2 separate regions of the Homo sapiens genome follow, and region 2 is linked to region 1. The links are contacts of gene promoters, found by promoter capture Hi-C in human tissues and cell types (Jung and others, 2019). All regions are on one chromosome and are shown on one strand. Each heading gives the region's core, a stretch centred on a gene start or on the middle of the fragment in contact. The rest is flanking DNA. Distances are from core to core; before and after follow the strand shown.

The links. The method cuts DNA at HindIII sites, captures the fragments that hold promoters and counts their contacts. A contact is called where the count stands out against the background at its distance.
Region 2: a contact is called between a fragment that was not itself captured here and the fragment with the promoter of MAFA in region 1, in 1 of the 25 tissues and cell types used here (IMR-90 fibroblasts).

The regions. Positions count from the first base shown.
Region 1 is chr8:143,429,237-143,435,224 of GRCh38, forward strand. MAFA (MAF bZIP transcription factor A) reads right to left here and starts at 1,496. Exons shown (of 1, transcript NM_201589.4): 1 at 1-1,496. The coding sequence starts at 1,170. The coding sequence ends at 109. RefSeq lists a silencer at 1,413-1,852. The HindIII fragment of the contact is 28,870 bases long and covers 1-5,988 here.
Region 2 is chr8:143,483,104-143,488,909 of GRCh38, forward strand. All of the region lies in intron 4 of ZC3H3 (zinc finger CCCH-type containing 3), which reads right to left. Among named protein-coding and RNA genes, the nearest start is that of SNORD149, 20 kb to the right of the region's middle. RefSeq lists enhancers at 4,677-5,214, 5,215-5,751. The HindIII fragment of the contact is 3,349 bases long and covers 672-4,020 here.

The DNA.
Region 1 (5,988 bases), core at 246-2,745:
GGCCGGGCCTGGTGTCCACGTCCTGTACCGCGGAGTCCGAGCCGAGGCCCCGAGAGGCCTGCGCGAACTTGTCCCCGGCGACGGCGGCGCGGGCTCGGGGTCCGGCGCCTACAGGAAGAAGTCGGCCGTGCCCTTGGCCCCGCCGGGACCGGCCTGCGGCGGCGAAGGCTCCCGCGGGAAACCGGCCCCGCCCGCGCTCCCGGGGCCGCCCCGGCCCGCCAGCTTCTCGTATTTCTCCTTGTACAGGTCCCGCTCTTTGGCCAGGCGCCCCACCTCCAGCTTCAGCTGCTCCACCTGGCTCTGGAGTTGGCACTTCTCGCTCTCCAGAATGTGCCGCTGCTGCACCCGCTTGAAGCGGCAGGACTGCGCGTAGCCGCGGTTCTTGAGCGTGCGCCGCTTCTGCTTGAGCCGGATGACCTCCTCCTTGCTGAAGCCGCGGAGCTGCCGGTTCAGCTCGCGCACCGACATGGACACCAGCTGGTCGTCGGAGAAGCGCTCCTCCAGGCGCACGTGGTGGCCCGCGCCACCGCCGTGTCCCGCGCCGCCATGGTGGTGGTGGTGGTGGTGGTGGTGGTGGGCGGCGTGGTGATGGTGGGCGGCGTGGTGCGCGCCGTGGTGGTGGCCGGCGCCCATGTCGTCCGCTCCGCCGCCGCCCGCGAAGCCCGGGCCGCGGAAAGCCTCGTAGGCTGCGGCGGCCGCCGGGTGGTGCGCGCCGTGGTGCGCGCCGTGGTGGCCGCTGCCGATGAGCGCCTCCACCGCGTCCTCGGGCGTCAGGTTGAGCGCCTCGGGGTTGAGGTGATGCTGGTAGCCGCTCATCCAGTACAGATCCTCCAGCGCCGGCTTCCCCGAGGTGCCCCCGACGGCGCCGGGGCCCCCGCTCGGCGGCCCGGGGGCGCCCCCGGCCTGAGACGAGCCGCCGCCGCCCCCCGCGCCGCCGCCGCCGCCGGTGCCCGGGCTGGGCGCGCAGAAGCTGGGCGAGGAGGGCACGGAGGAGCAGGGCGTGCTGAGCGGCGTCGAGGACAGCGAGCCTGGCGGCAGGCGGTGGCAGAAGCGCTCGGCCTCGGGAGGCTCCTTCTTCACCTCGAACTTCATCAGGTCGAAGTCGTTGACGTACTCGATGGCCAGCGGGCTGCTGGGCAGCTCGGCGCCCATCGCCAGCTCCGCGGCCATCGCCCGGGGCCCGCGCCCGGCCGCGCCCCGACGGGCGGCGTGGGAGTGGGGGGGGAGCTGCAGGCCTCTCCCCCCCCTGCTCCCCGCGGGCGGCGGTCCCGGCGGGGGCGGGGGGGCGCCGGCGCGGGGCGGCGGCGCCGAGGGGCGCAGGGAAAAGTTTCACGTGGTCAACTCCGGGGCGGCGCGCTAGGGGCACCGCTGGCCAGGTGTCTCGGGCGACCCCGGGCCCGCGTCGCCGCCTCCTCCCCGCGGCCGCCGCCTCGGGCTGCTCCGGGACCGCTCCCGCGCCCCACCCGCGCCGCCGGCCGGCCCCGCCTCCCACGGCTAAACGCGAAGCCGCGCGCGCCCCTTTATAGAGCCGGGTGCCTGGGCCCGCCTCCCCGGGAGGGGCGCGCGCCCCCGGGCCAATCGGAGCCCCAGCCCCGCCGCCCTCATTTGCTTATCCCCATGGCAACTCAGAGCCCAGCTGTCAATCTCCTGCGGGAAACAGCTGTGGGAAGAGGTAGGGACGGGCCGCCGGCTAGAGGAGAGGGCAGGGCCCTCTGGTGGCCATCACGGGGCACTGCACGGGCAGAGGGCGCGCCGCCTCAGGGGACAACTGCCGTCTCCAGGGGCCTCAGCTCCCACACCCGGCGGCCGGAGAGTCCGGGGAAGCAGACGGGGACCGCGCCCGGGGACCCCCTCGGGGCCTCGTCCGCCTCGGGCCACGCGGCGGGACGCCCCCTCGGCCCCCTGGGTTTGCGGCCGGGCCTGGGGGCCGGGGGCAGCTCCGCTAGCGGCGGCGGCGGCGGCAGCGGGACCTCCGGGCCTCTGGACACGGGTGACACCGCGCGGCCCGGCAGAGCGCGGCGCGCTGAGCCGGTTATTTTTAGCCCGCGGCTCAGACGCGTTCAGGAATTTGGTCAACAAAGTTGCCGGCACCTCCGGGCACCGGGAAGCACGGGGCGGGCGGAGGGGGACACACGCGTGCGGGGCGGCGCGAGGGGCCGGGGACGGAGGGCCGGCTTGTGGGGGGCCGCGGAGAGCGCAGGACTGTGGGGGTCGCGGGACAACGCGGGTGGGTGCGAGCGGCGGGGGCGGGGCCCACGGGCTGGCAGCCCCTCAGGGCGTTAGGAATCCCCGCCCAAGCGGCCACCACTGCCCACTTTCGCCCCCCGCAGGGCTGGAGGCGCCTTGCTGGGCCTGGAGTGGGACGGGGGGTAACTGAGACGGGAAGGCGGGGATTTCCACCTGGCGGCCGTGCACCTGCTGGGAGGAGACGGCTCCGGTTCACGGGGCAAAGGAGGTGACGATGGGCGGTGGGCCTGTGACCCCAGGTCCCCGACACCAGCGAGCCGGGTGATGGGAGGGTTGCGCCAGGAGTTACAAGGCCGGTGACCCGAAGTGGGCCTATTGTTTCTTCTCGAAATTCTCTCCATTGCTGTTCTATGACTTCAGCAATTTAAAAAAAAAAAAAAAAAGTCTAAAATGTAACCACCTGTGTAGAGAAAAAAAGCCTGGAAGGAGTTGCGCAGAGGCCACAGGGAGGCCTGGTCACGGCGCCGCAGATTTAGTACCAGGCTCTCACCTCCTTCCCTCTACAAAGATCTATTGTTTTGTAACAAGAAGACTGTCATGAAGTGAGGACTGAACATCTGCTTCCTAAGGTGTCTCGGGGTGTCCCTGGCCCTTCCCTGGGCCCTCCCACTCCTCTGGGCAGAGCTGGGACTGCTGATTTGGGAAGACCAGGCCTTCCTCCCCGCAAGGGAGGGCCAAGGACAGCATGAGGACCCACCTGCAGGGACCCCTCTCCCCCGATCCTGTCCCAGAGGGGGCTCTGAGCTCCCCACCCTTCTACAGATGAAGAAATGAAGTGGGCATGCAGCAGAGCCAAGTCCCCACACTGGGTACCTGGACTTGAGACCACACGAGTGGTCAGCCAGCCAGGGGTGTGGGGTTTCCTTTATGGCACCCCGTGTTGAGAGGGAGGCCCGGGAAGGGAGGATGCCGCCGCGCAGTGGAGCTGGTGGTAGTCCAGGTTGTCTGCACCTGCAGCCCCAGGAGAGGCCTTGGGGCTACAGGGCCCTCCCACGGCCCCTCCAAGGGTCTAGCAGCATTTCTGGGTACCACACCCTGGAGGCCCTGGGGCACACTGGAAAGGGGGTTGAGGAGGAAAGAGAGAGTGTTTGCACCGGGCTGTGTCCCCACTGTCCCCCCCTCCCGCCCATCGCACTGTGGCTCCTGCCAGGCCAAGGAGACCAGGAGAGGGTGTTTGGTCACCAGCCCAGGAGGACTCCAGCACACCCGTGGGAATGAAGGAGACGCCTGACCCCAGGCTGTTGCAGTGGGAACCTTCCCCGGGGCCACAGCTGTGACCTCAGGCTGAGGGACGCTGACCCCACAGCCATGCTTGGACTCAGTGGCACCCCCATCCCGCCACCACCCACAGGAAGCCTAAGTGCCTCATCTTGCTCTGAGAGGTGGGAGAAGGTGGTGGAGGCTGGGGTGGCCTCAAAGATTGACCCCAACCCATCCGCCCCAAGCCTGCCAAGCCCTCCTTGAGGCTTGGTGCTGTCACCACCAAGCCAGGATGGCTCCCTAGAATTCGCCTGTGCTCCGCTGTTCCCTGGGCTCCCAGAAGCGCTTTCCCTTCCCGCCAGCCTCCCAACCCAAGGGCTTCTCACACCCTCCAAACTTTCAGCATTTGGTCCTCACAGAATTCTGCAGGGGCAGTCTGTGTGGCTGGGTAACTCAATGCACCCAACAGGCTTCTCTTGAGCACCTAGAGTACGTCAGCCAGCCTGCCTAGGGGGCACATCCCATCAGGGAGGTGGCCAGGGTCCCTTGTTGAGAAGCCCCCTGGAGCTTGATGGCACAAGTATTATTTCATCCATGGGCTCTGTAAGGGGGAGATGTGTCCTGGGAATAGGGGCACAGCTTGCCTCTGGTCCTGACAGCTGGGAGGACTTGGGGGTTGGGGTAACGGGACAGCTGATGGATGGTGCCACTGGGCAGGGTCTTCACACCCAGGCCTGGCAGATGGTGAGAGCTGTCGGCCAAAACAGCTGCTTGTGACACCTCCACAGGGCTGCTCCCTGCAGCTGGTTGGGCTTCCTCACAGCATGGCTGCTGGTTCCCAGTGTGTGCATCCGAGGAAGGTGGAGGGGTGCATGTGCCTCAGAACACTGCACCATGCTGGTGGTCCTCGTGTGTAGAGGTCGGCCACCCCCCTGGGCAGGGGTACGGACACTGCCTGTGTAGGTCATGTGAGGAAGGGGCCTGTGGGCTGAGATGCACTGTTGTAGTGTTTTTGGAAAATACAGTCTGCCGAGTGGGCCTCAGAGAACAGAAAATCAGCCATAAAAATAGTAAGTAAAATGAGGCCGGACACAGTGGCTCATGCCTGTAATCCCAGCACTTTGGGAGGCCGAGGTGGGCAGATCACAAGGTCAGGATTTTGAGACCAGCCTGGCCAACCTGGCAAGAGCCCGTCTCTACTTAAAAAATACAAAAATTAGCCGGGCGTGGTGGTGCACACCTGTGGTCCCAGCTACTTGGGAGGCTGAGGCAGGAGAATCGCTTGAACCCGGGAGGCGGAGGTTGCAGTGAGCCGAGATCACGCCAGTGCACTTCAGCCTGGCCAACAGAGTGATTCTGTCTCAAATAATAATAATGAGTAAAATGATAGTGGATTTGCCTTCTATTGCTGTCTCACCAATTACCACACGTTTAGTAACTTAACACACATTTATGGTCTTGTGGCTTCTGTGAGCCAGGTGTCCAGGCAGGGCTTAGCAGGAGCCCCCGTCCAGGGTGCAGTCTAGGAGGTGGCCGGGCTACAGTTTCAACGTGGGACGAGAAGGGCTGTGCCACCAGGCATCGTCAGGCTGTTGGCAGAATTATTTCCTTAAATCTGTACAACTGAGGACCGGCTTCTTGCTGGCTGGAGGCTGGAGGCCACCCTGAGCTCCTCACCAGGTGCAGCCCCAGCACAGGCCCTGACGCCTCGGGCCAGCAGGGAGAGGCTCTCAGCGGGGCGTAAGGTGCCGTGATCACAGCTGCGGCATCTGGCCACCCTCCAGGAGTCTGTCGGAGGAAAGGGGTCACCCAAGGGTGGGAACGCTGGGCAGGGGGGTGCGTCATGAGGCTACCTCAGGGCCTGTCCCCCACACTCGTTTGTGAGAAGGCGGAAGCTTGGCTAGGTGGGGAGTTCTGGGTTGGTGGGGTTGGGGGGCCTCACAGACACCTGAGCAGATGGAGGGGCAAGCCCTTCAGGCCGGGGAGCAGGGAGCCCAGAGCCACTGCCTGGGAGGGGCCTGGAAGGGCCCAGGGTGGCTGGGTCAAGATCAGAGCCCATGGGGGCTGGTGTAGGGCCCAGGAAGTCATCGTGGGCCCCCAGAGGGCTCTGGGTGGAGGGAAACCTGGTACGAGGAGGGACAGGGAGGTTGGGGTGCTCACCAGCTGAACCCCACAGCTCCCTCTGCTGTCCACCATGGGACCCCACGCAGTCTGCTGTCTGCTGGGGCCCTGAGCTCATGCATTTTACTGCAGGGAGGGGCCTGAGGGGACCCTCCTGGCACGGCTCCTCCACCCCTGCCAGAGCACAGCTGCGCAGGAGGGCTGAGCTAACCCTGCCAGGCCATGCGTGGACCTCCTGAACCTCACCCTGCTGCCCCAAGAGTAAGTGCTCGGAACTGCGTAGAGCCTCGCGTGGGGTCTGGAGTGTCATTTTTGGGGCATGTATTTAGGTGGGAGAACCCCCACACCCCCAGTGCCCGCGTTTGCTGTGCGGAGCTGATCACAGGAGACAGAACCTTCTCCGTCCCGCAGACAGAGGCT
Region 2 (5,806 bases), core at 1,096-3,595, 55 kb after region 1:
GCCCGAGCGGGGAGTGCGAAGTCAGCAGAAGAGGAGCGGCCGGGGGGAGGCGGCGCCGCAGCGAATCCCCAAGTAGGTCAGGCAGAGCTGCGCCATGACAGGCACTAAACTGCTTAAGTGGGGCTTTCCACTGGAAACGCTGACACCCCCATCACCGTGCTGGCTCGGGAGGGCGAGCATGCATGTGTGTCCATGCGTGTGCGCGTGTGGGGCTGGCTGGAAGCCTCCCTCCCGGTTTCTCCTGGTGCTGAGCCACTGCGGCCCCCGAATGGGTTGGCCAGGCTACATGGGGCCCTTGGCTGGAGAGGCCCAGCCCGTGAGGCTGGGGCAATGCAGGGGAGGTGGTTCTACTGGACAGACACTCACAGAATGTCCTGAGTTCCGGAGGAGGAAGACAGAGTCCCTCATGGGAGGGGCCCAAGCTGGGCCGGCAGGGAGGGGCGCTCAGGCCAGACAGAGCAGAGGCGTGCAGTGGGGGTGCTAGGCGGGCTCCCGGCTCCTGGACCCTGCCCCCACGATCTCAGGGGCAGGGCTAAATGCTCAAGGGCCTGTGGCTGCCAGGGCTGAAATCTGACTACGTGGTGGCCACGCAGGCCTCACGATGGCTATGGCCACCTCATCTCACAGAAAGAACCCTCTTCTAACTTACTCCTCACAAGTCTGGCCCCCTATCCTCCAAACCCCTATACCCAGACCGTGGGGCCCTCACCAGCTCCAAGGGGCCTCCAGGTACCTGGGGCAGTAGCTGCTGTTCAGCAGGGGCTCCGGCACCATGGCCAGATGGGCTCTCTAGTCCCGCTGTCACCCCCACAGCATCTACCTCCCAGTATGGGGGCCTGCAGAGACCGTCCAGCCGCTTGGCTTTCCAGGATACACCTTCAGCAGGCAGGCAGGGTTACAGGCCTGGGTGGGAGCTGAGAGCCCTGCACCAGCGGCCAGGGGCGCCATGAGGGGAAAGAGCCATGCAGCCTTAGGGACAGCAGCCTTGTTTGGGGGCCCCTGAGGACAGGGACAGCCTTGAGTGCGACTGGTCCAGCTGAGGCTGAGCACGGCTGGCTCCCCCGGCCCCTGGGCTGACTCGTGGGGTGGAGGCTCTGTTGTGACATCTGAGGACTTCCTCACTGGGCACTGGTCCTTCCGAGGGCCATCCCTGCCCCGTCTCACCCCAGTAATGAATAAGAAGGATTCGGAGGCGCCTCTGCAGCCTGGCTGGGTGGCAGGGGGCAATACTAATGACACTGCCTCCGTTACAAACGTCGTGCTCCATTATGAGGGGCTGGGACTATTTTATGTATTTTATGTGCTCACATCTATTCAATTGGTATTTCGATCAATGGATGCATTACAAGCTTTCCCTTTAAGAGCCTAATAAACAACAAGATGGAAAGTAAAATTCTCCATAAAATGACACTTTTAAAAATCCATTTCAGCTGAAGCTATTGGTGTTTTGTATGTCAGCTGCAAAAAAACAAGTATTAGTGGGACTTCATGGCCCCGGAGTGCCGAGTTCAGCTCGTCCGGCAGAGGTGCCAGGCGGCCAGGTGCAGCTGTCCTTGGCGGGCCCGCGACCCTCTGCACCTGTGCCACCCTTTGGGCTGGGTCATCGGCCCAGGACCCACTCTGTCTGTGCCAGCTACTGAGGGGCAGGCTGGCCAGGAATCCTGCCTAGGCCCTCAAGGACCCCTCAGGTCACTGCTGTCTAAAGAGACTCACAGCAGACATCCCCCCACTCCCAGGCCCTGGGACAGCCCCTCCGAAGACCACACAGCAAATCCGGCTCAGCTCCCTGGAAAGGCGTGGTGACCTCAGCAAACTTCATGCGGCCCTTGCAAGGACAGTGGTATCTGCAAAAACCACGGGAAAACCACAATAAAAACCCACTCACTTCAGAGGGGTAACCAGAACTGATTATGAAGCAAAGATGTGTGAAAACCAAAGCCCTGCAAGACAGTGGCAAACACCAGTTGGAACATACAAAGAAGAGAAGCCAGAAACACTCTCAAATAACTGAGGAAAAATTCTACAGCAGGGGCGCCGGGCCAACATGTGGAAGTTATGGAGCATGAGTCCCCCTGGTGCTGAGAACAGGAGGGAGGCAGGCGGGGCCAGGGATCTGAAGTGTTTGTTGTGTGTGTGGCTGAAATCCTAAGAAGAAGAAAATGCAAATCTATGATTTGGAGGCTGGTTCCTTGGTGAGGCCGAGAACCCGGTCCAGTGTTTCTAAGGTGGTCTGGAAGAGTAAGCATTCAGGAATAACGAAGGGCACAGACAAGTGGGTCAACAGTGAGGATGGAGAGTCTGGGAACAGCCCATACATCTGCTCACCCGAGTGACGCAGGCGCCCCTGCACCTGAGTGGGTCAGGATCTCATTTCAATACATGTGTCTCCATGGGGAGACAAAAGGACTCTGGCCCCTACCTCAGACCACAGGTAAAAATTAATTCAAGAAGCCTCAGGCTTAAAATATAAAAGCTAAAATAGCCAAGCTTCTAGAAGAAAACATGAATGTGGGATAGACAAATATTTCTTAAACAGGACACAAAGAGCACTACTCATAAAAGGCTAAAAAACCAGATGCCGTGGAAGAGCAGGTCCCTCGCTGTAAGCAGACGTGTGGGGCGGAAAACATCCACAACAAAAACAAACTCCCACAAATCAGCCAAAAGGCAAATCACACAAAAACAGGCCAACACCCAAAGAGGCCCTTTACAGTAAAGAAGGGCACCACCAGGAGACCTGAGTGAAGAAAAAGATGCCCAGCAATGCCAGCCAGCGGGATGGGCGTGAGGCCCCACACCCCCCAGCATGGCAAGAACAGGAGACACGGGCCTGAGAATCCTGGCCAAGGCCACGGGCCAGCCACAATGCTCACATGCTGCTGCTGGCAGGCTGGGACAGCTACCTGGGACAGCTTCCAAAGCTCAGTGTCCATCACCCTCTGAGGCAGCAACTCCACACAAACGAGGGCTACCAGCACCCAGAGACACACCCAAGACAGCAGCTTCATAACTGGCAAGGATGGGAGAGACTCCAGATACCCACCCATCAACTGCAAGATGGACACACATGGCGTATCCATATCACAGAACACCACACGGCAGGGAAAAAGAATGAGTTCCCGCCAGGCGCGGCAATGTAGCGGAGTGAGAAACGTGGGCGCCTACGGCTGCCTGGCTGCTGCCATGGAATGCTCTGCAGTGGGCGGCTACGACAACAGAAACACACTTTCTCACAAGGCTGGGGCCGCACCGAGGCTCTGGCAAGGCTGGTTTCTGGTGAGGTCTCCCTTCCTGGCTTGTACTGTCCTCCCGTGGCTTTTCCTCTGGGCATGTGCCCCTGGTGGCACTTTTTATTCTTGTAAGGACATTAGTCCTAGTGGATCAGGGCCAAACACGTATAATCCCATTTAACCTCAATTACCTGTTTGAAGACCCCATCCCCAAACGTAGTCACATTGGGGGTTAGGGTTTCCATCTATGAACTTGGTGGGGGACACAATTCAGTCCATGAAAAGTGATGAACAAAAGAAGTCAGACACAGAATGGCACCCGCTACATGACCCCACCACCAAGAAGCTCACACACAAAACAGCACCTGCTCCACAACCCCACCACCACGAAGCTCACACACAAAACAGCACCCGCTACACGACCCCATCACCACGAAGCTCACACACAGAACAGCACCCGCTACACGACCCCATCACCACGAAGCTCAGACACAGAACAGCACCCGCTACACGGCCCCACCACCACGAAGCTCAGACACAGAACAGCACCCGCTACACGGCCCCACCACCACGAAGCTCAGACACAGAACAGCACCCGCTACACGGCCCCACCACCACGAAGCTCAGACACAGAACAGCACCCGCTACACGGCCCCATCACCACGAAGCTCACACACAGAACAGCACCCGCTACACGACCCCACCACCACGAAGCTCAGACACAGAACAGCACCCGCTACACGGCCCCACCACCACGAAGCTCAGACACAGAACAGCACCCGCTACACGGCCCCACCACCACGAAGCTCAGACACAGAACAGCACCCGCTACACGGCCCCACCACCACGAAGCTCACACACAGAACAGCACCCGCTACACGGCCCCACCACCACGAAGCTCACACACAGAACAGCACCCGCTACACGGCCCCACCACCACGAAGCTCAGACACACAACAGCACCCGCTACACGGCCCCATCACCACGAAGCTCACACACAGAACAGCACCCGCTACACGGCCCCATCACCACGAAGCTCACACACAGAACAGCACCCGCTACACGGCCCCACCACCACGAAGCTCACACACAGAACAGCACCCGCTACACGGCCCCACCACCACGAAGCTCAGACACAGAACAGCACCCGCTACACGGCCCCATCACCACGAAGCTCACACACAGAACAGCACCCGCTACACGGCCCCATCACCACGAAGCTCACACACAGAACAGCACCCGCTACACGGCCCCACCACCACGAAGCTCAGACACAGAACAGCACCCGCTACACGACCCCACCACCACGAAGCTCACACACAGAACAGCACCCGCTACACGACCCCATCACCACGAAGCTCACACACAGAACAGCACCCGCTACACTGCCCCATCACCACGAAGCTCAGACACAGAACAGCACCCGCTACACGGCCCCATCACCACGAAGCTCAGACACAGAACAGCACCCGCTACACGGCCCCATCACCACGAAGCTCAGACACAGAACAGCACCCGCTCCACGGCCCCATCACCACGAAGCTCACACACAGAACAGCACCCGCTCCACGACCCCATCACCACGAAGCTCACACACAGAACAGCACCCGCTACACAGCCCCATCACCACGAAGCTCAGACACAGAACAGCACCCGCTACACGGCCCCATCACCACGAAGCTCAGACACAGAACAGCACCCGCTACACGGCCCCATCACCACGAAGCTCACACACAGAACAGCACCCGCTACACGGCCCCATCACCACGAAGCTCACACACAGAACAGCACCCGCTCCACGACCCCATCACCACGAAGCTCACACACAGAACAGCACCCGCTCCACGACCCCATCACCACGAAGCTCACACACAGAACAGCACCCGCTACACAGCCCCATCACCACGAAGCTCAGACACAGAACAGCACCCGCTACACGGCCCCATCACCACGAAGCTCAGACACAGAACAGCACCCGCTACACGGCCCCATCACCACGAAGCTCACACACAGAACAGCACCCGCTACACGGCCCCATCACCACGAAGCTCACACACAGAACAGCACCCGCTACACGGCCCCATCACCACGAAGCTCACACACAGAACAGCACCCGCTCCACGACCCCATCACCACGAAGCTCAGACACAGAACAGCACCCGCTACACGGCCCCATCACCACGAAGCTCAGACACAGAACAGCACCCGCTACACGGCCCCATCACCACGAAGTTCAGGAACAGGCAAAGCCAATCAAGGTAGGCAGAGAGCAGAAAAGCAGGTGCTCATGGGGTAGACATGAGTGGGAAGAGCCAGAGGGAAGCTTCCAGAACTCATGCCATCTTAGGTAGGAAAGGCTGTTCTCAGCACATCAATACATGAAATCTCAAGAGACTGGCAGATTTAAGTGCACAGAAAAGTAAAAACTTCTGCAAACATCCTCACGAAATTCAAAGCGAGGAAAATGACAAAAAGGCGACTCCCCCTGAACACTTGGAGTTCCATGAATCCATAAGAAACAAGCCAGCTGGAGACAAGCGAATAGGGAACACAAACCATGTTGAACTTGACCAAGA